5 separate regions of the Homo sapiens genome follow, and all the other regions are linked to region 1. The links are contacts of gene promoters, found by promoter capture Hi-C in blood cells and fetal thymus (Javierre and others, 2016). All regions are on one chromosome and are shown on one strand. Each heading gives the region's core, a stretch centred on a gene start or on the middle of the fragment in contact. The rest is flanking DNA. Distances are from core to core; before and after follow the strand shown.

Region 1 (6,304 bases), core at 1-2,500:
CCGTGCCCTCCAGGTAGTCATGATCCCAGTGCAGGTCAGTGAGGAAGAGGATGCGGCTGACAGGGGCACCTGGGGCTGGGGGGCTAGGGGGTTTGGGGGGCGGCTTCGGCACAGTAGGCAAAGAGATGTTCCAAGATGAGAAAATGTCCCAGTGCCCACAGGTGGAGCCCAGGAGCAGGCCACAGGCCTCAGATGGGCTCAGCACTGAGCGTCTCCACACCTCCACCATGTCATCCTCAAAGAGGTGGACAATGGATTGGCACACGGCAGGTGGTGCTATCTTCAGCAGATTGCACAGCTTGATGGCCACGGAGCCCACGCGAGCCACATTGGGTTCCTTCTGCAGTGGGAGGAGCGCATGGTGAGAAATCAGAGGCAGAGCAGAGGAACCAGGCCAACCCCTGGCCACCACCCCTTGGGCCTCCATTTCCAAACTGGGGCTGGGCAGGACTCAGTGCACCAAGCTCAGTGCACACCTTTGCCTTCCAGATATTGCCCTGTAACTCAGGCAGCACCAGGCCATCGCTTCTTCTTTAGCTCAGCGGCCTGTGGCATGAGGCCTTTGCTTGGCAAGCTGACTTCCTCAGGCACTGTCTGCATTATTTTCTTACTTCACAAAGGTCACAATGGGGTGATGGTGGCATGTAGCCATGGGTGTCCCCAAAGGGGAGCAAACTCAGTGATGGATTGTAGATGCCACCCTCTCCATCAGGGATGCATTCTGAGCCCAGCGCACCAGCATCAGCCCCAGCCCCCAGCCCCAGCACTCCTTTCGGCCTCCTCCACTGCAGCCCCTTCAGTGCTCACCTTCAGCCCGAGGTTGATGGCGGTGAATAGACCTTTGCAGATTGGGCAGGTGAGGTTCCCCCACCCAAAGACATCTCGGAGCCGGGGCACTATGCGATGTAACCTGGCAGGATGGCCTTGGGGAGAAAGAGGGTGAGCCTCTGCCGGAGCCCAGAGAACCCGAGAGTCAGACAGAGCCAGCGCCAGCGCCAGCGCCAGCGCCAGCGCCAGCACCAGGCCCATCCAAAGGAGTCCGGGGGCTCCGGCGGTCCCGTCTTGTCCCTGCTCCCGGCCGGACCTGGGGCAGCTCTGGCGGAGTGACGCTCCGTAGCGGGGCATTGTCGCGCTTCCTACACGGGGCTGGTTCGTCTGTCCCGTCCCCCCCGGCCTGGACCCTAGCCAGCCCTCAGGGCCCCGGGCGGCGCCGGGGACACCCGATTACCCTTCTCTGTAGTCGGCTGACTGCTCCGCGGCCGGCCGCAAAGCAGCTCCGCCCCTTCCTCTTCCTCTGATCTCTGACAGCTGATCTCTCGGTGGCGGGCGGCTGTCAACGCTGCGGAGGCGGAGGGGGCGGGGCGCTCCCGGGACCGCCCCGATTCCGCCCCCTCTCCCTGCCCCCGCCCTGCCCCGGGCGCACGGGCTGCGGGGGTGGGGACTCTCCCTGAGGTCACCAGGGGCTCCGCCTTGAGGTCACAGCCGCGGGAGGCCGTGCTCGTGCTTTGGAGCTCCATGTGATGTGGTCGGTGGAAGACGTCTCCTTTGTCAGAATCCGCGCTCAGATTCCCGGAATAGCTGCCAGACCGACCCCAGCGTTTAGCCCGGGAAGGGGAGGTAGGAGAGAGCAGGGCGGGCAGGATCCTCCCACTGGGTGTGTTGCCTCTGACAGGAAGGCGCCTTCCCTCGATTCCCCATGCTCTGCCACTGGCACCAGCCCTCTTGAGTCACCCTGAGAATCACTCACCTGTGATTCAGATGAGGAAACAAACCTTAGAGATGGTGAAGAGACTAGGAAGCCGTAAAGACCATATAGCCGTGGGGGCCAATAACATGGGCGGGAACCCAATTGGGTCTCCCACCTCCGTGTATCCACGACAGTAAAAGCGAGCATTTATGGAGTTGTTTATGATGTGCCAAGCACCAACCCAGGCACTTTATAATTAATAATCTTCAATTCTCACAACAACCCTAAGAAGTACCTATTATATTGGGGCTCAGAAATCCATACCCAAAATATGGTGGTTTGACTTACTAAGTTAAGCCTTAAGGTGTGTCTGGCCTTCCTACTCCCGCGCCCTCTCTCCCAAAGCCGTTACCTAGCGTCCAGACCCATCAAAAGGAACAACGGTTTTTTTCTTCCCCTCCCTACAAAACCAAGAATATAATCACACCTGAACAGACCCCTTCACATGATAATGTGCTAGTTAATCTGTTCCCTGATCCATTCCTTCTCCCTCAGCAGAATTCCTCTTCCCCTCACTCCCACAACCCCCTTTGCCTGAATGACACCTAAGCTTCTGAACTCGTCTGGGAAGTGGGTAGTCACTCTGTGGTTCCCCGTGGACACATTAATACAATTTCTATGCCTTTTCTTCAATTAATCTGTTTTTTGTGGGTTGATTTTTCAGCAGAATTTCAGAGGGCGAAGGGAAAGTTTCCCTTGGTCCCTGCAAATACTATTATTACCCTCCTTTACAGATAGGATGAGGCACAAAGAAGTTAAGTGGCAGAATAGCAATTAAACCCTAAGCTGTTTGACGAGTGCTTCTGAGGAATCCTCAGAGCTATCAAGTCCTGTCAGTTCTTTCCTTTGATAATTTTTTACAAGTGTTTTTTCCCCCCAGTTCTGGGGACATCATCTCAGATAGAGTACTCACAGTAATAATTAGCATGCATTTTTAAGATTATGTACTATGAAAAACAAAACAAAACAAAACCTTTTTATCTAAGGAAGATGAGCCCCTTTAAATTATCAGGCCCAGACAGGCATTTAAAATGTAGCAACAGTCACTCTCACTCTTCTTTGAGCTAAGTAATTATCTCTTGAAACCACTTGCTATGCCAAGTAGCCATTAAATGCCATACACCTTATAGTTCAACAATGTATAGCCAAGCGCTAAACAATGTATAACCAGTGTTATTTCTGTAAACAATGAGAATTCCTGATGAACAACTTTTGTATTCATTTCCTCTCCTAATTCATCTTTTTTTCTTTGAAAATATGAGCCTCTCTTTTGTTGTCCAGAGTGCTCCCCCAAGACAACTTGCAAGTGTGTCCTGGGTCGCAGTCCTCAACCTTGGCCCTTGGCCCGAATAACCCTCTGTAGGTACTTTTCTGAGGACTCTGCCTTACGTTAATCCTCACAACAAATTTGGAAGTCGGTATTATAATTATCCCCATTTTACGGAGAAGGAAAGTAGGATTAAGTAAGTGGCTCAAGATCCCACAGCTAGCTAGTAAGTGCTGGAACTGGAATTTGGATGTGTCAAGCAAAACATGTCTGAGACAGGTCTCAATCAATTTAGAGGTTTATTTTGCCAAGGTTAAGGACATGGCTGGAAGAAATAAACACGGAATCGCAGAAACAGTCTGTGGTCTGTGGCTTTCTCCAAAGATGATTTTGAGGGCTTCAATATTTAAAGGGGAAAAGTGAGCTGGAGGGAAAGAAGAAGGGTATGGTAATCCACATGTCGCAAGAGAAAAGGAGCAGGTAGGGAGATACTCAATTATGTGTTCGTCTGGCACTTTACATAAGATAAAGTAAATATGCCTGTGGAGATATTTAACCTTTTGTGTTTTTTTTGTTTTTTTTTTTTTGAGACAGAGTTTTCGCTGTTGTTGACCAGGCTGGAGTGCAATGGCGCAATCTCGGCTCACCACAACCTCTGCCTCCCGGGTTCAAGTGATTCTCCTGCCTCAGCCTACTGAGTAGCTGGGATTACAGGCATGTGCCACCACACCCGGCTAATTTTGTAAATATTTAACCTTTTGTCTGTAGCTATCTGCTTAGGAACAAAAGGAAAGGCAGCTTCTTGCATGACTCAGTTTTCAGTTTATTTTTTTTCCTTTTGGCATAGTCAACTGGAGTCCTGAGTTTTTATTTTCCTTTCACAAATGCAACATTCTGGCTCTATTCTTTGCTGTGTGGGGACCCATTCAGAACACCAGAGTTGGTATAACAATTATTTTAAGCCGAAGACATTTCAGATTCAATAGATGCAGAAATAAACCTTCTGGGAGCTTTCTTCATCTGATTAAAACTTCTGGGAAATGTCAACCTAAAGGGAAAAATCTAAGGCAAACTTGATATAAGTAGAGAGTTTATTTGGGCCAAGTTTGAAGACTGTGAAGCGAAGATTCAAGTTGCCCTGAGTATATGCTCCCAATTAGCAGAAGTCACAAGTGGGTTTTTAAAGGAGAAGAAGAGGCAGTTCCTAATGAGGACTAAGCTCTGATTTTTTCTTATCTTGCTCAAATTCCTATCGAAAGGGTCTGGGGAGTCATGCCCTACAAACCATAAATTCTTATCAGTTGGGTTTTATTTAACACTATATATTGTGACTGCCTTTTCAGTCATACTCTGGCATAAAATTACGTGATAAAGAAGAAAGTCAAAATATTTTACCCCAAAACATGTTTCTTTGCCATATATATATATATATATATATATATATATATATATATATATATGTTTTTTGGTTTGGGGTGGGGGGCGGGACAGAGTTTCACTCTTATTGCCCGGGCTGGAGTGCAATGGGGTGATCTTGGCTTACTGCAACCTCCCCCACCCAGATTCAAGGGATTCTCCTGCCTCAGCCTCCCGAGTAGCTGGGATTACAGGCACCCACCACCACCATGCCCAGCTAATTTTTGTATTGTTAATAAAGATGGGGTTTTGCCATGCTGGCCAGGCTGGTCTCGAACTTCTGACCTCAGGTGATCCGCCTGCCTTGGCCTCCCAAAGTACTGGGATTACAGGAGTAAGCCACCGCACCCGGCCACTTTGCCATATTTTGAAATGGCCCTGCAAAGTCGTACCTTATGGGGGAAAATTTACATCTGTAAAGAATCTCTAATAACACAGATCTTTTTCTTCTGGGCCCTCCAATCCTGAAGAGATTAACTGAGAGTCTAGCACCTTTTAAAGGTCTGAATAGGAAACATTTGTCGACTGTTGTCTCTAAGGGCAGCCACTAAGAGACTTCAAAGAACCTTGGTCTCCACAATCTTTTTTTTTTTTTTAAAAATGGCGTCTCACTCTGTCGCCCAGGCTGGAGTGCAACAGTGTAATCTCGGCTCACTGCAACCTCCGCCTCCCGGGTTCAAGCAATTCTCCTACCCCAGCCCCCCGAGCAGCTGGGACTACAGGCATCTGCCACCACACCCAGCTAATTTTCATATTTTTAATAGAGATGGGGCTTCACGATGTTGGCCAGGATGGTCTCCATCTCTTGACCTCGTGATCCGCCTGCCTTAGCCTCCCAAAGTGCTGGGATTACAGGTGTGAGCCACTGTGCCCGGCCTCCACAATCTTTTATCTTAACCTGAACATTTCCTTTCTATTGATCCCAGGTCTTTAGACAAACTCAACCAATTGTCAACCAGAAAATGTTTAAATTTCCCTATAGCCTGGAAGCTCCCCATCCCCCAGCTTCAGATTGTCCCACCTTTCTTGACCAAACCAATGTATTTCTCAAATTTATTTGATTGATGTCTCATACATCCCTAAAATGTATAAAACCAAGCTGCACCCTGACCACCTTGGGCACATGTTCTCAGGACCTCCTGAGGGCTGTGTCACGGGCCATGGTCACTCGTTTGGCTCAAAATAAATCTCTTCAAATATTTTACAGAGTTTCACTCTTTTCATAGACACTAAGTTGTTCACCAAGAATTTACATAAAAATAACATAAGCTATTGATTGGCTATGCCTTGTTCTTTGTATCATAAATCCCAGGAATGTGAAGATAAAGGGTGAGGCATGTCTGACTAGGAACAAACAATTGCACCCCACTTCTTGGTTTTGTGGGAGCAAGGGTGGGGGTGAGGGGTGGAGTGTATGACTGAAGTCCCATACTCATGTCTCTCTGGGCCTGATACATTTTGCGTACCTCACATAGTTCAGAGTGCTCTGAGCTATTTTTCTTTTATCAGAAATGAAGACTGCCATACATACCCTCTTCAGCAAGGCTTCCACTCTGAGGAGGGAGACCAAGAGTAAACTCAACATAAATACCCTTTTCAGGGAAGTTTAATGGCTCTGAAGAAGACAGGAAGACCACACATGCTGGCATAGACCACAGCATCACACACTTTCTGGCCTCATGTTTGTTCTTTTGAAAACCCTTTTGTCTTTCCTTAAGAAACCTCTTTCTCCCCTGGAACTTTCTCCCCTTTCCCTTTCTCCTACTAAGTTAGATGTGTAAGCCTTTTCCTTCCTTCCTTCCTTCCTTCCTTCCTTCCTTCCTTCCTTCCTTCCTTCCTTCCTTCCTTTTTTTTGAGACAGAGTTTCACTCTTG
Region 2 (6,304 bases), core at 1,779-4,278, 380 kb before region 1:
TGCATTCACAAAAAGCGAGCCAAGTGAACGCTGTCCCACATGGACCTCACACTCCACTCCTCCTCCCCAACCCCTAGCAGCAGAGCTATCATATGGATTCAGGGTTCAGCAGAAACACCATTTTCCTTGTATTCCTAAGATTTGTGGGGAGAAATCTTCTTCTCACCTTGTGTGTGTTGCTGTGGCTCACAGGTAACGCTATTGCTTTGGGCCGTTTCTACAATGTCTCCTCCTTTGTAGCTCACCCCTTGTATCATGTGCCCTAAACACAAACACCTGCCATGCCACCACAAATCTCATGTATTGCCTTTATTCCTGCCTGTTTCTGAGAAAACATCTTATTATCTCAGCAAACACCTTTTGTACTGTTCCTCTAGATTTACCTCTAGAATCGATACCGCCATGACTGTTAAATTCAGCCCAGAATTCTCTTTCCCTCCAGCAGAGCAGCACTTGAAGAGTCCAGGTGATCAAGCAGCCCAAGAACCCAGAGATTCTCCTACTGAGGAAAGTAATCAACAACAATGAGACTGGTTTAAGGGAGAAGACAGCAAAGAGGTTTTTTATAAATAAAATTTTAAAAACTGAATTGGAATTCCAACTACATTTTAAGCAGAAAAATAGCTAGATCTTAAACCAATCCCCAGTATATTTGTTCATTGTGAAGAAAGAGATGCTTTCATCTATCTACAAAGATGTTTGCTTGGGCTTATTCTTCAGGATACCTTATTTGAAGGGATTTCTAAATGATTACTATTAACAACATGTCAAAATACCTGATACCAGTTTAGCTGATGGTTTATTTCAATAAAAGCATTCAGAAATCAGAGGCATACTAAGAAATGGAAAATATATCATATTATGGGATTCCTATTGGCCAATGCACAGTGACCTAGAACAATCCAAAGCTAGAGTGAACACCTTTAGAAAAGCTTCCACTGATAATATATTTGGTTCTAGGCAACTAAAAAAACACATCATGGAGCTCCGGAACTCCACCTTGGGAAGCGGCTTCATCTTGGTGGGGATTCTGAATGACAGTGGGTCTCCTGAACTGCTCTATGCTACATTTACAATCCTATACATGTTGGCACTGACCAGCAATGGTCTGCTGCTCCTGGCCATCACCATAGAAGCCCGGCTCCACATGCCCATGTACCTCCTGCTTGGGCAGCTCTCTCTCATGGACCTCCTGTTCACATCTGTTGTCACTCCCAAGGCCCTTGCGGACTTTCTGCGCAGAGAAAACACTATCTCCTTTGGAGGCTGTGCACTTCAGATGTTCCTGGCACTGACAATGGGTAGCGCTGAGGACCTCCTACTGGCCTTCATGGCCTATGACAGGTATGTGGCCATTTGTCATCCTCTGAAATACATGACCCTCATGAGCCCAAGAGTCTGCTGGATCATGGTGGCCACATCCTGGATCCTGGCATCCCTGATTGCTATAGGACATACCATGTACACTATGCACCTCCCTTTCTGTGTGTCCTGGGAAATCAGGCATCTGCTCTGTGAGATCCCACCCTTGCTGAAGTTGGCCTGTGCTGATACCTCCAGGTATGAGCTTATAATATACGTGACAGGTGTGACTTTCCTCTTGCTCCCCATTTCTGCCATTGTGGCCTCCTACACACTAGTCCTATTCACTGTGCTTCGTATGCCATCAAATGAGGGGAGGAAGAAAGCCCTTGTCACCTGCTCTTCCCACCTGATTGTGGTCGGGATGTTCTATGGAGCTGCCACATTCATGTATGTCTTGCCCAGTTCCTTCCACAGCCCCAAACAAGACAACATCATCTCTGTTTTCTACACAATTGTCACTCCAGCCCTGAATCCACTCATCTACAGCCTGAGGAATAAGGAGGTCATGCGGGCCTTGAGGAGGGTCCTGGGAAAATACATACTGCTGGCACATTCCACGCTCTAGGGAAGGATCATGGCTTGCCTCTCACCATTCCTCCTCCAGATAAAATTCTCTACTCACTCATTCCTGCTCCAAATAAAATTCTCTACTCACTCATTCTTCAATACTGTACTCTGAGATGATAGATACATTTTTTAAATTTTACTTTTATTTTCAACTGTGAATCTGGTGTGTACAATGATCTTGAGTTAAACTCATTTGGCACACATCATCCTGACTTTGGAAACCCATGTTATAAAAATAACCAGATGGGGGAAAAGCCTTGAATGGGTGTTGTAGACTCACTCTGTGGTAGGCATCGTCCTGACACATTACCAAGTAGACATGGTAGGGGATTAGCTTTCCATTTTAACATCACATAGCAGTGAGAAGCAGCAGTAGTTTTGGACTGACCAAATTCCAATAGCCTCTCAGCATCAGAGGAGGACTACTCCCTTTGAAGCAGATTCTTAAACTACTAATAGAGGGAAGAATTTTCAGAAGATATATTAGACTTCCTGTTTATTAAGTAGATGATTATTTGAGCAGTTAGTGGAAATGAATAAGAGTTATGTGACTGCATTTGTACTCTAGACCTAAGGGACCTTCACATTGGTTACTTGAGTAATGATAAATAATTACATTGAAAGAGTGTGGCCAGGCGCAGTAGCTCACGCCTGTAATCCAAGCACTTTGGGAGGCTGAGGTGGGCAGATCACCTGAGGTAAGGAGTTCAAGACCAGCCTGGCCAACGTGTGGAACCCGGGTCTCTACTAAAAATACAAAAATGAGCGGGGCATAGTTGTGGGTGCCTGTAATCCCAGCTACTCGGGAGGCTGAGGCAGGAGAATTGCTTGACCCTGGGAGGCGGAGGTCGCAGTGAGCTGAGATCGCGCCACTGCACTCCAGCCTGAGCAACAGAGAGAGACTCCGTTTCAATAAATAAATAAATAAATAGAAAGAAAGAATGGAAAAGGATAAAGAAAGATATTTCTACTTGGAAATTTTGACAGTCTTTTTGAAAATGGGCATTTTTACATTGCCTAAAATTAAAACTAAAATAAAGAATGAATAAAATAGAATTGAAAGTACCAGTTTTAAAGTGAGTACAATAACAATGAGAGAAATTTGTTGGGAATATTGTCTAAGTTTTTTAAAATGTGGACTTGCAGATATGTGAATGTGTTTTTAAACATTAAAACAATTGAAAGAGGTTATATTCTTGAGGTGAGTGTATGTACATGTGTGTTTCCATAGAAAAGGAAGTATAAAATTTATAATTTGCTTTCTAGCTAGCCTAAATAAGCCTTATTTTTTTTATTCTACTCATCAGTGTGGGAAGATTTATAGCAAAATTTGGGAACTTAAATTTGTTGAATGCAGAATTCCCAAAATATCTTGGCTTACATAGGTGTTATTATTCTTGAGAATAGTGCTTTGTCAAAACACAATAATTCTTGTTTTCTTTATAGAAATAATATTACATTATTTAATCTATAAAGCTAAACCATAAAAAATAAAAGATAAAGCTAATCTATAAAATTAATCCAACTTTGTTATAAAAACTGAGAAAATTAAAAAAATTAGAATAAATCAAAAATCACTTATAAATTTTTCTTTTTTGTTGCACATATATGCATTTTACTGAATTTAAATGTCCATGATGATGAAGGTCCTGTGTTTTTTCCATTTGAAATTTGGTGAATCTTCTTCCTTGCTATGAGGGAATATTTTAGAGTAGTGATGAGAAAGCAGACCAGAGTGCCCGCATTTGAATCCCTCTCTTCCTTTGGTCATCTATGCATCTTTGAACGCTAAATTAAACTCTTTGTACCTTAGTCTGCTGATGTTAAAAGTGGTGATATTTACTGGCCTGCTCTTGTGATATTGTTGGGTAGATTAAATAAGATAATTAATATCAGGTACTGAGACCACAGCTTAGTAAACTGTGCTTAAAACATTTTGGCTGCTATATGGATAAATAGTAAAAAGCCTTTTTAAAAAATCTTATTTTATTATTTCCTTTTAGAAATGAAACATTTGTTTATTATTTTTATTGACAAAATATGTATGTCTTAATGTAGTAAAACATGATGTTTTGAAATATGTATACTTTATGGAATTGCTAAATCAAGCCAACTAACATATGCTTTACTCCACATACTTATCTTTTTTGCATTAGGAAAAGTTAAAATCTACTTTCTCAGCAATTTTCAAGCACACAATATAATCTGATTAACTATAATTGCCATGATCTACAATAAATCTCTTGAACTTATTCCTCCTGTCTAACTGAAGTTTTGTGTCCTTTCACCAGCATCTCCCAAATCCCCCTACCTCAACATTTGGTAACCACCATTTTACTCTCTGTTTCTGTAAATTCAGCTTACAGGTTCTGCATATAAATGAGATCATGTGATATTTTTCTTTCTATACCTGGCTTATTTCACTTAAAATAATGTTCCCCAGATTCATTCATGTTGTTGGAAATTATACGATTTCCTTCTTTTTTAAAGAAGGTAAGACTTTCTATTCTGAGTGTGTGTGTGTGTATCTATCTATATCTATATCTATATCTATATATATATATCACATTTTTTAATCCATTCATTCATTGATGGACACTTAGGTTGATTCCATAGCTTGGCTATTGAGAATAATGCTGCAATGAACACAGTAGTGCAGATATCTCTTAAACATACTAATTTTATATTCTTTGGGTGTACACTCAGATTGGGATTGCTGGATCATACAGTAGTTCTATGTTTAACTTTTTGAGGAACTTCCATACTGCTTAAATTGGTACAATGTAAAATGTACCAATTTACATTTCCACCAACAGTGTGCAAAAGCTCCCTTTTTTCCATTTCCTAACCAACACTTTTCATATCTTGTTTTTTGGATAATAGCCAATCTAAAAGACGGAAGGTGATATCTCATGTAAGGTGATATCTCATTTGATTTCCATTTCCCTGAAGATTATGAATCTTAAGAACCTTTTCATATACATGTTGGCCATTTTTATGTCTTCTTTTAAGAAATGTCAATTTAGGTTCTTTCCCCATGTATTACTCAGGTTATTCCTGCTATTGAGTTGAGTTCCTGATATATTTTGGATATTAACCCTTTATTAGATGTATGATTCAAAATATTTGTATCCGTTCTATAGGTTGTCTTTTCACTCTAATGATTATTTCCTTTGCTATGCAGAAGCTTCACTGTATAAATGCAGCATATCACATTTACTGTTTTGCACACGTTGAACCATCCTTGCATCCTCGAAGTAAATCCCAGATTGATCATTGTGAATGATCTTTTCAATGTTCGGTTGAGTTTGGTTTGGTCATATTTTTGTTGAGAATTTTTGCATCTATGTTCATTAGATGAATTGGCCTGTAATTTTGTTTTCTTGTAGTGTCATTCTCTGCCTTTGGTATCAGAGAAATACTTCCAAAGTAGGCAGAGACAGCATGAATTCAAAGACAATTTTCAGGCAAGGGAAAACAATTACAAACAGTTCTTCTTTTTTTTTTTTTTTACTTTAAGTTCTAGGGTACATGTGCGCAACGTGCAGGTTTGTTACATAGGTATACATGTGCTATGCTGTTTTGCTCACCCATTAACTCGTGATTTACATTAGGTATTTCTCCTAATGCTATACCTCCCCCAGTTCCCCACCCCACGACAGGTCCCAGTGTGTGATGTTCCCCGCCCTGTGTCCATATGTAGTCATTGTTCAATTCCCACCTATGAGTGAGAACATGTGGTGTTTGGTTTTCTGTCCTTGTGATAGTTTGCTCAGAGTGATGGTTTCCAGCTTCATCCATGTCCCTGCAAAGGACAAGAATTCATCCGTTTTTATGGCTGCATAGTATTCCATGGTGTATATGTGCCACATTTTCTTAATCTAGTCTATCATTGTTGGACATTTGGGTTGGTTCCAAGTCTTTGCTATTGTGAATAGTGCTGCAGTAAACATATGTGTGCATGTGTCTTTATAGTCACATGATTTATAATCCTTTGGGTATATATCCAGTAATGGGGTCACTGGGTCAAATGGTATTTCTAGTTCTAGATCCTTGAAGACTCGCCACACTGTCTTCCACAATGGTTGAACTAGTTTACACTCCCACCAACAGTGTAAAAGCATTCCTATTTCTCCACATCCTTTCCAGCACCTGTGGTTTCCTGACTTTTTAATGATCACCATTCTAACTGGGGTGAGATGGTATCTCATTGTGGTTTTGATTTGCGTTTCTCTAATGACCAGTGATGATGAGCATTTTTTGATGTGTCTGTTGGCTGCATAAATGTCTTCTTTTGAGAAGTGTCTGTTCATATCCTTTGCCCCCTTTTTGATAGGGTTGTTTGTTTTTTTCTTGTAAATTTGTTTAAGTT
Region 3 (6,304 bases), core at 1,757-4,256, 360 kb after region 1:
TATTGCCAATCCAGTTTTAGAAACAATAAATTAGTTTTTACTCTATGGACCACATTATTGACTTATGTTTATATACGTACTTCCACTTGCTGGAACATCTAGGAATCTGTTCCCTTTTCTTTTCCTCCTGTTCCAGACTTTCTCACTCGTCCACACCCATTTTCCAATGTTCAGTAGTGAAGAAATGGACTTTAACAGAGTTAGAGCCTAGGTGATAACACTGGATGGGTGGAGGCAAGTGTCCTGGGCTCATTCAGGCAGTAGAGCTTTGACTCTTCATGAGTAAAAGGCTAATGTGTGATGACTGGAAGCAGATAGGAGGATTGATCCACAAATGTCATCTGAGGAGCATGAAGAGATATGAAGATTATGTCAAACAATGCTAGAAAAGGACAGAGCATTAAGGGGGATGTACCTCAGGGATGGTAAAATAGAATGTTGGGGGATGAGGTTCAAACAGAGGGAAGACTCACATAGGAAGATGAGATTTCTGTTTGGATAAATTGGTAATGATTTTGACAGGATGAAATTCAAAACAATTCTTACCAACATTAGGAGCAAGTGGATCATTTTATGTTTATATTAGGAAAAGGAGAAGACCCATTAAGTCAGAAACCTAGCACAGGGCTTTTTCATCAAGTAAGTGGGTGAATCTTGGGGGGCACCTGTGAGCAGTGGCATAAATAGATCCCTGAGTTCCATCATGTATTCTGTGCCATGCCCCGCTTCCCTCTAGTCCACCAGACAACCCCCCTGTGGCTACCCTTTACAACACTGATCAGAACTGCCCCTCAGCCCACTGAAACTGTGGTTAATTCTCCTTTCTCATTCTTCCTCCTTAAAATTTTCTATCTATGTTAAACACCAGGGCCAGTAATGCCAAAATATTTTTCAGTGGGCTTTTATTAAGAATCTATGGGGTGTTAGAGAATGTAGTATGTACAAATGGAAAAGTACCCTTTATCTGCCCTCTATTTCACAGCAGAGTGGAGGGAGATAGAGAGGTACAAAAACAACATGCTAAGGTTTACAGATAAAATTTATTAATAGTAGAAGTGGCTTCCTCAGTGAAGTAGCTACCTCAATTATCTTACTTTCCTTCTGAATATTTACTCTTTCCCTGAACATATAAACATACCACAGTATCTTTCATTTCCGCCTTGCTTTTTCTTCTATTATAAGTTTGAAATGGACTTTAGCTACACAGTCAACTTTCCCCATCTACACTTCCTCACTTACTAGTTCTCCAGCTCCCTTCATTCTGGTTTCTGTTGCTACCAGTCAAATGAATCTCTCTTGGCCAGGTTACCAATGACACACCCTTATTATAATATTTAATGAATATTCACTGTCCTTATGTTATTGAACTTCTACTTGACTAACAAGTTAGTAAAACCCTTCTTGAAATTTTCCCCTTGGTTTTTTCTGGGGCATCTTATTCTTAAGATTTTCTTTATACCTTTCTAGCCCTTCCATTTATGTCTCCCTTTTCTTTTTCCACCCCTTCAATGTTACTATTTTCTAGGGTTCCAATCTTAGCCTTGTGCTATTCCAACTCTACAGGCTATGTTCTAATGCTTTCTGAATTTATGTCCTAAACTACGATCCTTCTAATTTTCTCAAACTCTTCAGTTTGAAACAGCCGAAAACAAATCTATGTGTGGCGATTATAAACACCTCGTTCTTGACATATCCCAGTACACACTAATCTTACTCATTTAGCTGTATTTTACATCTTGGTGATGCAACTTATTTACTCAAGCTAGTAAACCGGGGGTCACTCTGGGCTTCTCACCTATTTTCTCCTTTAAAACAAATCTGTCAATAAGTTCTGTCTATATGACTTCTGGAAGATTCACCTTCTTCCCATCCTCAGTGCCTCAGCCTTTGTTCAGTTGCACGTCACTTCTCACCTTGGCTATTGCGGCCGCCATTCTTTCTATTTCTGCTCTCTTGCCTTACCCAAGTTCATGCATAATAATGTGTCCAGAGTGATCTTTCTGTACGTACCCTAAATCTGGTCATGTCTCTCTTCTAATGGAAATATTTTTTTCCATTTCTTTTCATCCATATGACTAGTTCTAAAATCTTCAGCATAGAAAATGTACTTAAGATCTGGCTTTTTCTTTTATCAACTCCATTTTTGGCTCTTTCTTTCAACTCCTCATCCTTTTGGCTCCAGTCAGATTAAATATTGCATAGAATTTCCTTCCAAAGTTATTCTCAGACTCATCTCCATGCTTTCACATAATCCATTTTTTATATCTTCAATACACTACACAGATTTAATGCATGTAAATCCTCCACATCTATTGAAATAAAACTCAGCTAAGTTGTTAGCAGCTTTAGGAAAGCTTCTCTTTTCCTCTAGGGTTGAGTTCAGAAATTTTCCTTTGTGCCTTCCTATTATTCTGCTCATATGTCTAATTAACTCACTCTACAAATATTTTTAGCCATTTCATGTCAAGCACTGGGCTAATTGATGTTATTTTCATGGCATGAAATGTCTAATTGGGCATTGGAAGAAGGAGTATGTAAGCAACTTATCATATAAATGTATAACTACAGATGATGAGGATGGTTCAAAGTACTACAGAAACATAAAATAGGAGGACTTGATCTTGTGTAAAGGGGGTTAGAACAAACCTCTCAGAGAAGAGAGTATTTGAATTGAGATGTAAAGGATGAGGAGAAAGTAAGTGTTGTGTAGAAGCATAAGATGCACAGCCTTCCAAGAGAAGTGGGATCAGAAAGCTCATGTAACGTTCGAAGATCTGAAAGGACGGTGTGGCTGAAGCTCAGGGAGCAAGGGAGATGGGGTGTTAGATGGAACTGGAAAATGAGGAAGGAGGTAGATAATATATGGCATTGCCTGCTTTCCTTCCTCCCCTCCCTCCCTTCCTCCTTCCTTTTCCTTCCTTCCTTCCTTTCATAATGTAGTCAGTTAACTATGTGTACCTAGCAATCTATCTATACCCTGTTTATATAGTGATGATAAAAGAAAAACCACACATGGTTTCTTCCCTCATGAACTTATGGTCTCATGAAGTTCAAGTAAAAAATTTCCTTTTTATAATATTAGCAATGAGAAGCCACTGAAATATTTTAATCAGATGACTGGTAATATTTATATTTAAAAACATTTCCTTGATTTCAATGTAGAGAATGGTTTATAAAGAAACCTAGACTGCATTAGGAGGCAATATTTACTTTTTACTCGAGGTAATAGTACTTGGATGGTGAGAGTGGATATGGAGAAGTGGATGGATTCCAGGGCTAATTAAAAGGGAAAATGACATGTCTTAGTGGTTTCATCATGTACTTCGTATCATTTTCAATGGGTAGAATAAATGTTCAAGACATTTTCTGGGCGCTGGCTTCTAAAACTGACAAATATTTACACCAGTCACTGAGATGCTGGCAAAAGACCAGGTTTTTAAATTTTGGACTTGGTGAGCTTTGAATATCTTTGGGAAACCCAGGTTGATACATAAAGTAGGCTTCTGGAGAGGTCTAAGTAAGAAACATAATTCAGTAATTTAGTAATAGAGATGGTAATTGTCTAATGACATAGACAAGATAAAAGAAGTGGAAGAAGGGAAAACAGAATATCAGAGAGGAAAGAAGAAAAGCGAAGAAAATGTAGGACTGAAGCTTTAAACTGACGTCAAGGTAGTGGATGATGGATGTGTTCGAGAAAATGAGAGGGAGTGACCAGGAGGTACAAGGTAAACTAGAAGTCTGTGATATATGAATTAGGCCAAAGAGAGTGTTTCAAGGAAGAGGATTTGATCAACTGTTTCAACAAGATTTAACAATAGGGAAGCTGTAGGTGATTTCTGAGAGCTATTTTGTGGAACTAATGGAGATGGAAGCCAAATTGAAGTGAGTTGTGGAATGGATGTAAGGTGAGGGAATGGAGACAGTGAGTGTAAATGCTTGTGAGAGGTTTGTGCATGAAGGGAAGGGGAGAGTTAGAGAAAGAGCCAGAATTCAAAGCTGGGAGAGATGGGATCAATTCTTGAAGATGGACAGATTATTTATTTTAATGAAAGGAAACAAGAAAAGGATGAGAGTATATACACATTATTTATAAGTCTTACAAAATTTTATATAAATTTATAGGATCAAAGTGCAATTTTGTTCCATGCATAGATTGTATAGTAGTTAAGTCAGGGCTTTTAGGGTATCCATCACCTGAATGATGTACATTATTCTCATTAAGTAATTTCTCATTATCCACCCCCTCTCACCCGCCTCACCCTTCTGAGTCTCCATTGTCAATCATTTCACTCTCTACATCTATATGTACACATTTTGAACACATACTTATGAGTGAGAACATGCAATATTTGTCTTTTTGTGTCTGGCTTGTTTCATTTAAGATAATGGCCTCCAGTTCTATCTACGTTGCTGCAAAAGACATGATTTCATTCTTCTTAATAGCTGAGTAGTATTCCATTGTGTGTATGCCATATTTTCTTTATCCTATCATCTGTTGTTGAACTCTTGGGTTGATTCCATATCTTTGCTATTGTGTATAGTGCTGTGATAAACATACCAGTACAATTATCTTTTTGATATATCGTTTTCTTTTCTTTTAGGTAGATACCTAGTAGTAGGACTTTTGGATGTAAGGGTAGTTCTATTTTTATCTCTTTCAGGAATTTCCATACTGTTTTCCTTTGAGGCTGTACTAATTTACATTCCCACCAATTGCATATAAAAGTTCCCTTATACATGTTGGCATCCTTGCAAATATCTGTTATTTTTTGTATTTTTGATAATAGCCATTCTGACTAGGGTAATATGTATCTCACTATGATTTTAGATTTGTAGATTTTATTTTGAAAAGTTGAGGAAAATTTTACTGATTACTTTCTACTTTCTCCATGACGTGGTATTTGATGTCACCTTCTGAAAGAAGTAGAGTTTCAGGTTTGAAAAAAATGAAGACATTTGGGAAATAATTTTTTCTAGAGGAGAAAGTTGATTAGGGAAGATTTGTAGGGTGCAATATTTATTGAAGGCACATTTAAGGTTAATGATCACAAATTTATAGTAAAACTAGCCTCTTCTTTCCTTTTTTTTTTTTCAGTTTTATTCCAGGAGCACTAGGATGTTCAGGCTCAGGTTGTGGGAAATGAATAGTTATATTCATATAGATTGAAGTTTTAGCAAAGGGATGACTTAATCAAATTTATATTCTATTTTCTTCTAGTATACCATGAGTTTGGGTAAGAGATGTAACAAAAATATCCATCTCAAATTATATTGGTGTATAGTAGAAAGCAAAGACCTAATTAAAGCTATTTTTCTCCAAAATGATTTATTAAAAAACTTATCATCTACCATTGCTTTTCTTACACTGGTAACATACTGGCCTAATTTGTTGCGTGTTTGTAATATGTTTTAACATATAGTGAGGTTACTGCCTGTCACTACCCTTTTTTTTTTTAAACTTCATAGGTTTTTCATTCATTCATTTTTCTTCATAGACCACACCATTATTTATCAAGTCTCACAATTCTACCTTTAGAATATTGGCTGAAATTTGCCTTACTTGGCAAAAGTGAACTACCTATCATTGGCTTCCTAAAGAGTAAGTGAAAGGGATACTTTTCAAAGCAATTTGTAAAAATAACCTCTTGTATCTGCCCATAAACATAGTCATCAGAAGCCTACTCAGCTCATGATTCAGCCTATGGCGTCACCCAGCAACAGCTCCACTGTCCCAGTCTCTGAATTCCTCCTCATCTGCTTCCCCAACTTCCAGAGTTGGCAGCACTGGCTCTCCCTGCCCCTCAGCCTTCTCTTCCTCCTGGCCATGGGAGCTAACACCACCCTCCTGATCACCATCCAGCTGGAGGCCTCTCTGCACCAGCCCCTGTACTACCTGCTCAGCCTCCTCTCCCTGCTGGACATCGTGCTCTGCCTCACCGTCATCCCCAAGGTCCTGGCCATCTTCTGGTATGATCTTAGGTCGATCAGCTTCCCTGCCTGCTTCCTCCAGATGTTCATCATGAACAGTTTCCTCCCCATGGAGTCCTGCACGTTTATGGTCATGGCCTATGACCGTTATGTGGCCATCTGCCACCCACTGCGGTACCCATCCATCATCACTAATCAATTTGTGGCCAAAGCTAGTGTCTTCATTGTGGTGCGGAATGCGCTTCTTACTGCACCCATTCCTATCCTCACTTCCCTGCTCCATTACTGTGGGGAAAATGTCATTGAGAACTGCATCTGTGCCAACTTGTCTGTGTCCAGGCTCTCCTGTGATAATTTCACCCTTAACAGAATC
Region 4 (6,304 bases), core at 1,115-3,614, 330 kb before region 1:
ACTCTCTTTTGGCTTCCACTATAGCTGTTCAGAAATCAGCTCTCTGTTAGGTTTTTAAAGGTAAACTCTTTTTCTACTTGTATTTGTACTTTCTACATGTATTTGTTGTTTTGTTGTTGTTCTTGTTGTTTCTGCAGTTTTATTCTGATGCATCTGATTGTAAAGTTATTTTATTTTACTTTAATTTTTTTACTTAGTGTTTGCAAAGGTCTTAAACTTTGTCTTTAATTTATAATGGAATTTTTTCATTCATTATTGCTTCAGATTATTTACCTCTTCTGTCAGATATTTTTACCAGGTAAATTACTTAAGGCTTTAAAAAATTGTCTTATACATTTCTCTACTTATTTCAAATGGCTTTCATTGGAAAGATTGGTTTGAGCTGCTGAGTTTACCATTAATTAACATGCAGATTTAAATTGTAGAGACATTGAGGAAGAAGAAATGCGCAAGACAAAAATGACTGCAAGATGGTGTTTTACTCTGTTTTGTGTTGCTATAGCAGAGCACTTGAGACATGGTAACTAACAATAAACAAATTTATGGCTCAAAGCTCTGGAGGCTGGGAAGTCCAAGGTCAAGGTGTCAGCATCTTGCAAGGACCTTCTTGCTTTGTCATCACATGGCAGAAGCACAAGAGGCAAAAGGGGACAAAATTCAACCTTTCATAACAGCATTAACCCCACCCATGATGGCATAGCCCTCATGGCCTAATCACCTCTCAATACTAATCATCTCTCCTGCCTCTTAATACTATTAAGATGGCAATTAAATTTCAACATAAGCTTTGGAGAGGACAAACCTTCAAACCATAGAAGATAGAATGACTATTATAGCAATCCGATAGACATGATGAAGGCAACATCTAAGGGAGAACGGATAGAGTGTCAAAAAGAAGTGAAATTAAATAGAGGTTTAAGAGGACAAATGGAAAAGATATTATGTACTAAATTCATGTTAAGAAGAAGGATGAACAAGACGCCCATTGGCCTGGAAGTAAGGTGGTGCCATTCAGCAGGACAAGAATTACAGGAGGAAGGGAAATTGAATAACGTATGAAATTGAAACATGTAAAATCTCATCTCATCTGCTGGTCAAGGATATATACTGAAGGTAGTGAGGGGAAAAACATAACATTAATAAAACATTAAATACAGGGGAGCATTTGAGTCTACAGACACAGATGAAGGTGGCATCAACAGAGAGACAGCTATTAATGTAACAGAAAGATGATATTAACTAGGGAAAATTAAGAGTAAGAAGGGAGTGACAAGCATAAACCAGGTTAGTAGCACATTTAAAAGGGCAGGAAAGCAAATAAATATCATGAAATGCCCTAGGAAGAAGTGACACAGAGACAGGAAGGAAACCAGGCAACACAGATTTCACAGAAACTAGATAATCTGTTGGTTCCATCACTCTTTAAAAAAAAAAAAAAAAAATCAAGCTACCAAACTCAAACTCAAGCATATTTTCAAACTCCGTCTCTCATCTTAATGTTTTACATGCAATTGATTCTATGTAAAAGGAATTGTCAAAATAAGTCTAGTAAGTTGCAACCCACCCTGCAAACCACAAAGGCAATCCACATTGAAAATATCCACAATGATGGCTTGCACACAAAAAAGGGTGTTAAAAAATTTTTGTTAAAACAATTAAATGAGGAATGAGAAAGCCTTGTAGACTTGCATACTAGTATACTTACACTTTTGGCCATGTGGCTGACACTTCCTAAGGTCAGAACAGTCAGCTAACTGAGTGTCTGTTTTTTATGCAGCCATGGCCACAGGAGAGCACACCCCTGATGACCCTCTGCTCAGAGGCAAAAGGAGGCAAGACCTCCAAGAGATGCTGAGAGAAGTGGGCCTGGATGTTGAGTACTGGTTACCCAAGCTGCAGGAACACCTGGGTGTGACCTGTGCCCAGGCCTTACAACACCTAGACAAAAACAACCTCAAGAAGCTGAAATCCCAGACACAACATCCATGGGAGAAAGCTGCTTAATCTGTCACACTCAAAAAGTCTTTCAGCGTTACAGGAGTCTCAGGTGGAGAGGGCAAAGAGAAAGCAGAAGCAGGCAGAACAGGCACTGCAGGAGCTGAGGGACTTGCTGACAGAAGGGAAGCAGAGACAGGAAGAGGCAGTGAGGACAAGAGAAGCAGAGCTGAGGCAAGCAATGGACATCCCTGAAGAGTACTGGCCATCCCCTGAAGAGCCTCTAAGGGAACTCATGGAAAACCTGCAGAGACAACTCAACCTCATGAAGTGGACACTGTGCCACAGGCAAAACCTTCCAGATAGAGATGTGGTGAGATGGGCATCTGGAGGGCTGGCCCTCCAGGGAATTTACAAAGCCAGCCACCAAAGGGGCCTGACAGAGAAGAGAGAGGAGTTGCTCAGTGTCCCCAAAGAGTTCTTACTTTTGGGTCCTCAGCAAGGAACACAAATGAAAACAAAGGAATTCACATCTCCTCAGGCTGAATTCATGTTTACCCAGATGGTAGAGAAGCTGGGCTTTCGTTTAACTACTTCAGCCAAGGACGGAAATTGGGGGTTTAGTCTAGAAGCTGGTTTGGATCACAGCAAACATCCAGAATCCAAGGAAACCCAACAATCAAGTTCTGAGAATTCTTATTTCTGCTCAACCAAGTTCAGCTATATCCCCCTGGCCTCCTGCCACTTTCCCATTGATCAGCTCCAGTTATCCAAGCCTGCTGTCCAGGAATTGAAATGCATTGAAGAGCTTCTGAGTCAGACAACAAACCCAGACAGGTTCTCCTTGCTGAGGCACAGGATCATAAACTTCTTCCACAGGTTTGGCTCTCATGTTAACCAAGGCCCTCTGCACCTGGGAGGAATCTACTGGTGGAAAGCCATTTCAGAGGGTTATTGCACGGAGCAGTTGGCAGAAGTGAGGCAGCAGTCTGCAGAGGCCCTGGACATTTTCATAAGGGACAGCTACAGTGGCTTTGGAGTGAAAGTTGCTGCAGGTGTGAATGTTTCAGACTCTCATTCGAAGACAGCCACTCAGACCAAAACTTCCCAAAACCTCCAAACCAAGGTCCAATTATCTGTGGCCCAAACAGGTGGCCCACCAGAAGCAGATGGCCTTGTCCAGTGGAAAGCTGGCCTCATTGCCAGCAATCAAACCTGGTGTGTCATTGACCGCGGGCTTCAGTTGGTGCCAGTTTGGGACATTATCCTCTCTAGCCACAGAAGCAATTTTAAGGATCCTCTTCAGGTGGCTAACTTCCTGAAAGACAGCTACACTGCTCTGACTAGCATCACTGCCCAGATCCAGAATGGGGAAGAGTTACTGAGTGCTGGGAAGGAGGCCAGGGTTTTTCTAGAGGATGTAAAATCTTGGGAGGTATCTGATCCTGAAGAGCAACTTAAAAAACTGATAAATTTCATGAAAATGTTGAGTCAAAAACTAAAAAGTTATGACACTTGGATTAATATATGTCTCACAGATTAGAGTCTGCAGAATTTTCTAGTAAACACCATCAACTTTTGCAAAAAGTCTTCCATTTATAAAACTAAATGTATTAAATCTCATTTGCGCAGCCTTCTGGATCCTCACATCTACAGAGTGACAAACTTTCCTCAGGCTCACTTCATCATGCAGTGGATCTTCCAGTCAGATTCAGAGCAGGAGCAGGTGAATATTTCCCAATTTTCTCAATTAATTGAGATCTTAAAAGAAACCCAGAATAACCTCATGGAAGTAAAGGTCAAATCTGAGTCCCCAGAAACAGTGGAGGAAGCTCAAAGAAAGTCCACTTATGAGGTCAGCTTGGCTCTCAGCTGCTTCTTGAATTATCTCCAAAAAACAGAGCAGACAGACACACAACTCTTGCTACTTTCCATTGCAGCTGCTGCAGGATATCATGTGATCAACAATACTTTTCAGAGTCTCTTGGGGTGTGATGAGTTAAGCTTCCTACTGGATGAAATGCAAACCGCCCAAAATAAATACCAGGAGCTTAAGAATATTTGCAGCTATAGGGCTCAGGCATTCCTGGTTCTCACAGGTCTGACAGCCACAGTTGGAGACACAGCTATTTCTTCAGAAGAGAAAACACAACGCATGTCATTAATGAGACATCACATGGGACAATCATTGTCCAAAGAAGTTGCACATGTCCTCACCAAACCTGGAGCAGATCACGATTGGGAAAACCTAGAGAAAGACTTGAGATTGCTCATTAATGGGGATTATGAAGAAGTCACCATCTCTTCTTTGCAAATGGAAGAGGTGAGCAAGCAAAGTCTCTTCTATGGAAAGAAACAGCCCCATGAACCACATGACAATGAAAATAACAAATGGGAGATGATAAAAAATGGAGCCTTCCTAGACTTACTCCAGCATCTAGGTCTAGAACATTACTACCCCAAAAAATTGAGCAAAGCTAATTTCCATCTCATCTATAAGACGTCTGTGTATAACACCCAGCCCAGCTCTGAACAGGAGCTTCCCTTCTATTTCCTGCAGAAACTACTGATGATGGATTATGAGCTGAGATACCTAGTCTTCAAAGATGATAGAAACACAGAACACCAAGTACATCCAAATGCTTCAGATCAGGAAGATGAGGCTTTTGACCCATATGAAAACTTTTTTGAAGACAGTGATAGTCCCACTAAATCTTCATCCACTGAGCCTAGCCCCCACATTCACCCAGTGGATATTCAGATGACAATTTTTCACTGTGCAGATAATTTTGCCAGACAATATATTTTGGCCAAACTTTCCACTTGTCAGTTTGCCCTCCCCCTTTTGGTGCCTAATCCCTGTACTTCTCAGATTGAATTCTCTCTCTGGTCTCTCCGTCAAATTACAAGAAGTTGGCAGGAAGCAAGGAAATCACCAAAAGGGAAGAACTATTATAAGAATCAGCAGATGTGCTGTGTCTCTACCTCAATTGTGTCCTTCGTAAGAGTTGGAAATGGCCTCTCTGCTTCTAAATCTCAGATTATGAACTGTCTTCTCAGTAAACGGAAACATGATGTGTTTTTTCACCGACACTGCACAGGAAGCAGGAAAGACTGCCTCTTGATGGGGGGCATGGTAGAGATCTGTTGGTTCTGTCCAGGAGGGGAAGATGAGGACAGATTTGACAACTGTGTGACCTTCACCAATCTTCATGGAGATGCAAAAGAACATGAGCAGCAGCTCAGCTTCCTGAAGGAGGTGTCTACTGTCATTGTGGTCCTCATGTCAGCCTCCGATGACAATGAAGGAAACCGAAAAATTGTCCGTAACTTGTGGCAGTCATCAAGGCCATTGATCTGCTTGCTCGATGACAAAGAAGCAACCATGACCAATATTTCTGGCCAAAGAATGAGAATGGGTATCAAGAATAGAAATGAGGCAGAATTAACAGAGGAACTCACAACTACAATCAGACATTTGCTAGAACTCTCAGATACTGCTCTCAGCTTGGAGGACTGTTCCCAGATTGCTCACCAGCAAGGATTTCTTATCGATGAAGACCAGAGAGACTGCAAGGAAGCCAAAGAAAAGGCACAGGCTCTAATGGCCTTCCTGGGGAAAATGAAATTATCTCAGATTAAGGAAAAATTACTACCCCTTCAGGGACAACTGTGGCACCACTGGTGTAAGAAGGACAAAGAACTCTATCATCTTAGAGAAAAGGGAAATCAGAGCATTGAACAACACAAGAGTGAGATTGAGACAGATAAACAAATAATACGGCATGAACAGTTGGCCAGAGCCCTTCCTCTCAATGATTTAATGCAATCTGTCCTTCAGTTTCTCCAAGAGCATTCAGAAATTCACACCAAACTGTACTTCTTGCAGTGGCTGAGTGTATTTTTGGACAAACTGACTGCAGGACACTTGGAAGAACTGCATGAGAAGCAAAAATATTGGTGGTCACTGGTTCAAACAGTAAAGCAAAAGGCACCTAATAGTCACTCCCTGATATGCCTGCAAAGTGAGATAGAAGCCATTTCCACAGAGATTAGTGACTGTACTTTGGGAATTGAGCAACTTATCAGAGAAGTTGGTCAGATTTATGAAGCTCTGGAAGAAGCTTCCTCCATAAAAAAGATTTTTTTCTCGCTTCCCCAAATTGCCGCAGACCTGATGATATCTGGTGTTCCCATTGAGCTGATGGATGGGGATGCAGCATATGTACCTCTAACATGGGTGGCAGCTGTTTTTGACAAGGTCTCTGAGAAACTTGGAGACAAACGGCTATTTGTTCTTTCTATCCTTGGCTTGCAGAGCTCAGGGAAATCCACCGTGCTGAATGCCCTTTTTGGGCTTCAGTTCACT
Region 5 (6,304 bases), core at 1,274-3,773, 280 kb after region 1:
CTGCAGCTCTGTTATGCTGCCCAGCATGCATTACTCTGGTGAGATGAGCTGATGGTTTCTGATGTTGCTTTAGTCCTTGTGCTATTTCCTAAGAAGTTGTTTTCCAAGGTGGACTCATGTGCAAACTTCCTGAGGTCATTATTCAGACCATGGTCCAGGTATTTTCTTTGATACACATAATTCAACAGATCTATAATGCTCCCTGATTATATAATGAATTAAGCACCTACTGTGTGCAATGTTCTGACTGAGGCTCATTGAAAGTACACATGAATGGTTCTTGTACTCAAAAAGTGTGCAATTTTTTTAGGTGAGCAAACAGCAAAAATTCAGTTAGCTTTAATTAACAGGTTATTTGAAACTATTTTTATAGGGCATTTTCTAGGATCCATTTTCTTCCTTTCCTAGCAAGAAAACTGCCACATAGTTAGATTTATATTTCCATGTGTATATCTTATTTCAAAGCATGTATTCTTTATCTCTTTTGATTGTCACAGCATGTTTGCGATTTGGCTCAGCAAAATGTTATGATTTTTGTCACTTTTAATCAGAAGAATTGAAACATAGGGAGGTTTCATAAGTTGTTCAAGTTCACACAGAAATTTTGGAACAGAGCAAGACTGAGAGTAAGAATAGTGCTATGGTTTTTCAATCAGACTTCCCAGGACTTGAATCCCAGCTCTCCCACTTAGAAACTGTGCTGTCAGGGGGCAAGTTCTATAATTTCCAGTGCCTGAGTTTTCTTAGCTGGAAATTGGGAATAATATTGTACCTGCCCAAAGGGTTATTGTGAGAATTGAGTCAGATAATCTACATACATATTTTATCAAAGTTTCTGGCCTACAAGAAGTATTTAACACTTGTTAACCATTAATTCATTAATTATTGAGATTTTTTTGGGTACGAAAATTAAACTTTACTCCTTTTTAATAAACATTTATTGTTTACTTTTTATTATAAAAATTACATATGAAAAGCACATAAATATGTAAGAGTTAAATATGTGTAAATATTAAAGGCTTTGTTTTCTATTATTAGTCATATTATAATGATTTTTATGAATAACTTTTTGACTGCATTTAGACTATTTCTTTTGGATATTTTTCTAAAATAGAATTACTGGTTAAGAACATTTAAACATTTATAAACATTTTGATAAATTTTACCAAATTGCTTTTTGGTGTGTTTATAGTCCTACCAGTTGTGTAGGAAAGTGTTAATCTCGGGGTAGGCTAGCAGTAATAGTTAGAAACATTTCACTTTTTTGTTCTTACTTATTTTCCAGGTAATAGGAAATTTTCTTGTAATTTTAATATACATATTTTGATTAGTGAGGCTGACAGTTTTCATGATTTTATTGGCCATTTTTTTCCTAGGGAGTGTGGTAAGTGCAGATTATAACCCTGATCTATTGAGAACTAAAACCTCTGTCATTTCCTAACATCTTACTGGATTCCTAAAGCTGGAGTTACTTGGACACGTCCTGACCCAGTCCAAGCAGTCTCTGAAAGCCCAGTCTGAGTTTGTGCATCCTGAGTGCACAGGCCAGGGGGTTGAGTGCAGGGGGGATGACATTGTGCAGCACATTAAGGAACACAGGAATAAGGGGAATCTTTTTCTCTGCAAGGTGTGTGACAGACAGCACAATGATACCTGTGTGGAAGAGGATGAGGATGAGGTGGGAGCTACAAGTGCTCAGAGCCTTGGACATTGCTTCTGCTGAGTTCAGCCTCAGCACAGAGTGAAGGATTACAGCATAGGAAGAAAATACCAGAGCCATATCACTCCCAACCAAGACCCATGCTAGCATCAGTTGGTAAAATTTGTTCACAGTGATGTCATCACAAGCCAGGCTGATAACCCCCAAGTTAGAGCAGAGGCAGTGCTCGATTTCATTCCTGGAACAGTAGTGTCTCTGGGCAGCCAGTATAGGCACTGGGATGGTCAACAGGCCATTCCTGAGCATGATGAACCCTGTGGCTTTGAAGACAAAAGCTTTAGTGACTATGGAGGGGTACTGAAGAGGGCGACAGATGGCTATGTATCTGTCTACTGCCATGCAGAGAAAGATGCCTGACTCTATGCAGAAGAAGCAGTGGATGGCATAGATCTGAGCAAAACACATGGGGAGGCTAATGGCCTTGGCATCAAACCAGAAGATGGCCAGGATCTTGGGCATGATGGTGGTGGCCAGGCCAATGTCCACCACTGCTAATATGCCCAGCAAATGGTACATGGGTTCATGTAGCACGGTCTCATGTTGAATGGTGATTATGATGAGGAGATTGGCACCAAGAGCTAAGAGGTAGAGCAGAGTCAGGGGCAGGGAGAGCCAGTGCTGCCACTCATGAATGCCTGGTAATCCCATCAGGATGAACTGGGAAATCTGGAGGCTGGAGTCATAGGTAACACTGGTGGAGGTATCCATGGAATGGGTGCCTCAGTCTCAGTGTCTGTCTGAAATAGAAGAAATCTCTGTTTAAAAGTTCAGCTAAGGGGCTGAGCATCGTGGTTCATGCCTGTAATCCCAGCACTTTGGGAGGCTGAGACAGGCAGATAATTTGAGGTCAGGAGCTCGAGACTGACCTGGCTAACATGGCAAAATCTCATCTCTGCGGAGAATACAAAAATTAGCTGGGTGTGGTGGTGCCTGTCTGTAATCCCAGCTACTTGGGAGGCTGAGGCATGAGAATCATTGAACCTGGGAGGCGGAGGTTGCCGTGAGCCGAGATTGTGCCACTGCACCCCAGCCTGGACAACAGAGTGAGACCCTGTCTTAAAAAACAAAACAAAACAAAAAGTTAAGTGTCTTGGTAAGAGCTCCTCAATAATGAACCAGCTCCTTTTATTCATGAATGACCCTCAACTTTATTTGACTTCTGGAAATATTCCACAGAGGAATAACAAAAAAAGCAAAAAAATTCTAAACAGAAGAGTTGGAATAACTATTTTTCATCACCACTTGTATGTCTAATAAGCATGTCCACATATATTAACAACAGTCTTATCACTAACAGATAACAAATGTTAGTATTTGATTTATTTCCAATTTTCTATTTTATTTTTAAACAGTCTACATCATTATCTAGAGATGATTTTGTATCTTGTTTTTGTCTTTTAGCAGTATGTGTTAAGATGTAATATAAGCACTCAAAAATTTTATTTCATGGATGAATACATTAACCAAAGACTTCACAATATTATTTAAAAAGTGTGATGTTAATTTTAATTGCTGCTTTAAATTTTTGCATTTGGCTATTCTATAATTTACTGACAGGTATTTTGCTTTTAATATTGTTTTCCTTGAGTAGAGTTTCAAAAGTGATGCAAAAATTATATATACAAAGGATATAATAGTCTTAAAATTTTAAATATAATTTTGATTTTATTTTAAGATATATTATCTATACATGGTAAAAATCAAAATAAAATGAAAAATATAAACAATGAAAAGTAAGACTCTCATGCTTGGGGCTTTGAAATCTTTTTCCTTTTCACTAGAGGCAGCCAGTAATATGTTTCTTGGGAATCCTTCCATTAATAGTTTATGCATGGATAAAAACATATATATATATATATATATATATATATAATTTTCATAAAAGACATAATCAATTGTTAGCACACCTTTCTCCTTTTTTCTTTCCTTTTCTTTTTTAACTTAATATTTTGAAGACTGCTCCATATTTCCATACTGCAGTTAAGTTGCATTATTTTCTACCACCTAGATGCCCTATAGTTTAATGATTTTTTTTTGTATTTTTAGAATTGATATATCATATTTGTAGATATTTTGGAGGTACATGTGATATTTTGATACATGTATACAATGTGTAATGATCGAATCAGTGTAATTAGGATATCCATCACCTCAAGCATTTATCTTTTCTTTGTGTTAGGAACATTGCAATTCTCTTTTAGCGATTTTGAAACATACAGTAAATTATTAACTATAATTTTCCTACTGTGCTATTGAATACTAGAACTTATTTCTTCCACCTAACTGTATTTTTGTCCCCATCAGCCACCCTCTATTCTTCCCCTACCCCCACCCTTTCCGGCCTCTGGTAACCACCATTCTATTCATTACTTCTGTGAGATCCACTTTTTTTCTTTTTCCGGCTCACTGCAAACTCCACCTCCCAGGTTCAAGCGATTCTCCTGCCTCAGCCTCCCGAGTAGCTGGGATTACAGGTGTGTGCCACCACACCCGGCTAATTTTTGTATTTTTAGTAGAGATGGGGTTTCACCATGTTGGCGAGGCTGGTCTCAAACTCCTGACCTCAGGTGATCTGCCTGCCTTGGCCTCCCAAAGTGCTGGGATTACAGGCGTGAGCCACCGTGCCCAGCTGAGATCCACTTTTTAAGCTCCCAAACATGTGTAGGAACATGTAATATTTGTCTTTCTCTACTTGATTTATTTCACTTAACACAATAACCTCCAGTTCCATTCATGTTTCTGCAAATGACAGGATTTTATTCCTTTTTGTGGCTGAATAATAGGCCACTGTGTGTGTGTGTGCGTATCACATTGGATATATATATACACTCTCTATACTATATACAGTGTGTGTATATATAGTGTGTATGTATCTATATATATCTCTCTCTATATATCTCATATTTTCTTTATCCATTCATCCATTCATGAACACTTAGGTTGATTCCATATGTTCGCTATTGTGAATAGTGCTGCAATAAACATGACAGTGCAGATATCTCTTCTATTTACTGATTTCCTTTCTTTTGGATATAAACCCAGCAGTGAAGTTGCTGTACCATATGGTAGTTCTCTTTTTAGTTTTTTTGACGAACCTCCATATTGTTTTCCATAATGGCTGTACTACTTTACAATCCCACCAACAGTGTACAAACATTCCCCTTTCTCTGCACCTTTGCTTGCACTTTCATATTTTTGATAATAGCCATTCTAACTGGAATGAGATGATATCTCTTGTGGTTTCGATTTTCATTTCCCCAATGATTAGTGATGTTGAGCAGTTTTTAATATAGCTATTCACCATTTGTATGTCTTCTTTTGACATATCTGTTCAGATATTCTGCTTTTTTTTTTTTTTTTTTTTTTGAGACGGAGTCTTGCTCTGTCGCCCAGGCTGGAGTGCAGTGGCACAATCTGGGCTCACTGCAAGCTCTGCCTCTGGCCTCAGCCTCCCCAGTAGCTGGGACTACAGGCGCCCACCACCATGCTTGGCTAATTTTTTGTATTTTGGGTTTCACTCTGTTAGCCAGAATGGTCTCAATCTCCTGACCTAGTGATCCACCCGCCTCGGCTTCCCAAAGTGCTGGAATTACAGGCGTGAGCCACCGCACCCAGCCTCTGCTTCCTTTTTAGTTGGATTATCTGTTTTTTTCTAGTGAGTTTCATATATATTCTGGTTATTAATCCCTTGTCAGAGATTTTGCAAATATTTTCTCCCTTTCTCTCCTCATAAATTGTTTTTCTTTCAGTAAACATGTGAGTTTGAAACAGAAGGAAGTTTGCAAGAAAACATCAAAAAGTTATCAGACATGTTTCTTCCTCCAATAGGTGTCAGTTGGCCCACGGAAAAATCCACCCATAAAAAGTAAATGTAAGCTCACTTTCTTAAAGATTCTGTAGGTTGTATATTTGTTGGGCTTTTAATCTGTTTCCAGCATTTTCTACTATAAAAAATGAAGCTGTGAATGTACTTTTTCTTGTATCTTTATGCATATGTATAAGTTTCTCCACATAATAATTTCCAAGAACTGAACTGCTGGGTCAAATGGAATGAAACGATATTGATTTGACAAGACAAATTGTCTTTTAAAGAGGTTATTCTGACCCTGTATGAAAGTATGGGGATTTTGAATGCTCTTGATGTATACTAAAATGATGTATACTAAAATAGGTACATTGTAGTACTTTACACACACAGAATTTGTTCATGAGTGTGTCTGTTTCATCATGTCCATGCCAAAACTGGGAATTTTAATTTAAAATATTTATTAATTATTCTATTAATATAATAGAATGAAAATTGATATATCAATTTTGTTTTAGTGTTCACTTCATTGTTTAGTAAATTTTAATTTTCAAGCACTCATTTTCCATTTATAAGCTTACTCATTAATTTTCTATTTTATCTTATTGTCTATTTGTTATTTATCCAATTTGTCTTGTAGTACTAAAGAAAATAATGTTTTTAAAGTGCTTACCATTGCAGTATATACTACTTGGGTGATGGATGCACCAAAATCTCAGAAATTACCACTAAAGAACTTATCCATGTAACCAAACACCACCAGTTCCCCCAAAACTATT

The links. Contacts are between HindIII fragments. The CHiCAGO score rates a contact against its expected background, and 5 or more counts as called.
Region 2: a contact is called between a fragment that was not itself captured here and the fragment with the promoter of SMPD1 in region 1, in 1 of 17 cell types (non-activated CD4 T cells). The highest score is 5.5, in non-activated CD4 T cells.
Region 3: a fragment that was not itself captured here is called in contact with the fragment with the promoter of SMPD1 in region 1 in 4 of 17 cell types (monocytes, neutrophils, M0 macrophages and 1 more); the score reaches 7.8 in monocytes.
Region 4: a contact is called between a fragment that was not itself captured here and the fragment with the promoter of SMPD1 in region 1, in 9 of 17 cell types (activated CD4 T cells, non-activated CD4 T cells, naive CD8 T cells and 6 more). The highest score is 18.1, in activated CD4 T cells.
Region 5: the fragment with the promoter of OR56B4 here is called in contact with the fragment with the promoter of SMPD1 in region 1 in 5 of 17 cell types (neutrophils, M0 macrophages, M2 macrophages and 2 more); the score reaches 14.3 in neutrophils.

What each region holds. Positions count from the first base shown.
Region 1 is chr11:6,385,420-6,391,723 of GRCh38, reverse strand. SMPD1 (sphingomyelin phosphodiesterase 1) reads right to left here and starts at 1,250. Exons shown (of 6, transcript NM_000543.5): 1 at 808-1,250; 2 at 1-340. The coding sequence starts at 1,125. It overlaps LOC124902624 (a long non-coding RNA gene), which reads left to right and starts at 1,368. Exons shown (of 2, transcript XR_007062573.1): 1 at 1,368-1,617. RefSeq lists a silencer at 1,034-1,533. The HindIII fragment of the contact is 7,977 bases long and covers 1-2,299 here.
Region 2 is chr11:6,763,633-6,769,936 of GRCh38, reverse strand. OR2AG2 (olfactory receptor family 2 subfamily AG member 2) reads left to right here. Exons shown (of 2, transcript NM_001004490.2): 2 at 443-4,311. The coding sequence starts at 980. The coding sequence ends at 1,930. Among named protein-coding and RNA genes, the nearest start is that of OR2AG2, 5.2 kb to the left of the region's middle. The HindIII fragment of the contact is 4,187 bases long and covers 935-5,121 here.
Region 3 is chr11:6,027,093-6,033,396 of GRCh38, reverse strand. OR56A1 (olfactory receptor family 56 subfamily A member 1) reads left to right here and starts at 2,639. Exons shown (of 2, transcript NM_001388488.1): 1 at 2,639-2,695; 2 at 5,671-6,304. The coding sequence starts at 5,705. LOC107984303 (a long non-coding RNA gene) reads right to left here. Exons shown (of 4, transcript XR_001748102.2): 2 at 81-341. The HindIII fragment of the contact is 1,300 bases long and covers 2,357-3,656 here.
Region 4 is chr11:6,717,356-6,723,659 of GRCh38, reverse strand. It overlaps the pseudogene GVINP1. Among named protein-coding and RNA genes, the nearest start is that of MRPL17, 37 kb to the right of the region's middle. The HindIII fragment of the contact is 3,154 bases long and covers 788-3,941 here.
Region 5 is chr11:6,103,903-6,110,206 of GRCh38, reverse strand. OR56B4 (olfactory receptor family 56 subfamily B member 4) reads right to left here and starts at 2,523. Exons shown (of 1, transcript NM_001005181.2): 1 at 1,372-2,523. The coding sequence starts at 2,428. The coding sequence ends at 1,469. It overlaps LOC124902622 (a long non-coding RNA gene), which reads left to right. Exons shown (of 3, transcript XR_007062565.1): 3 at 5,470-6,220. The HindIII fragment of the contact is 4,106 bases long and covers 1,998-6,103 here.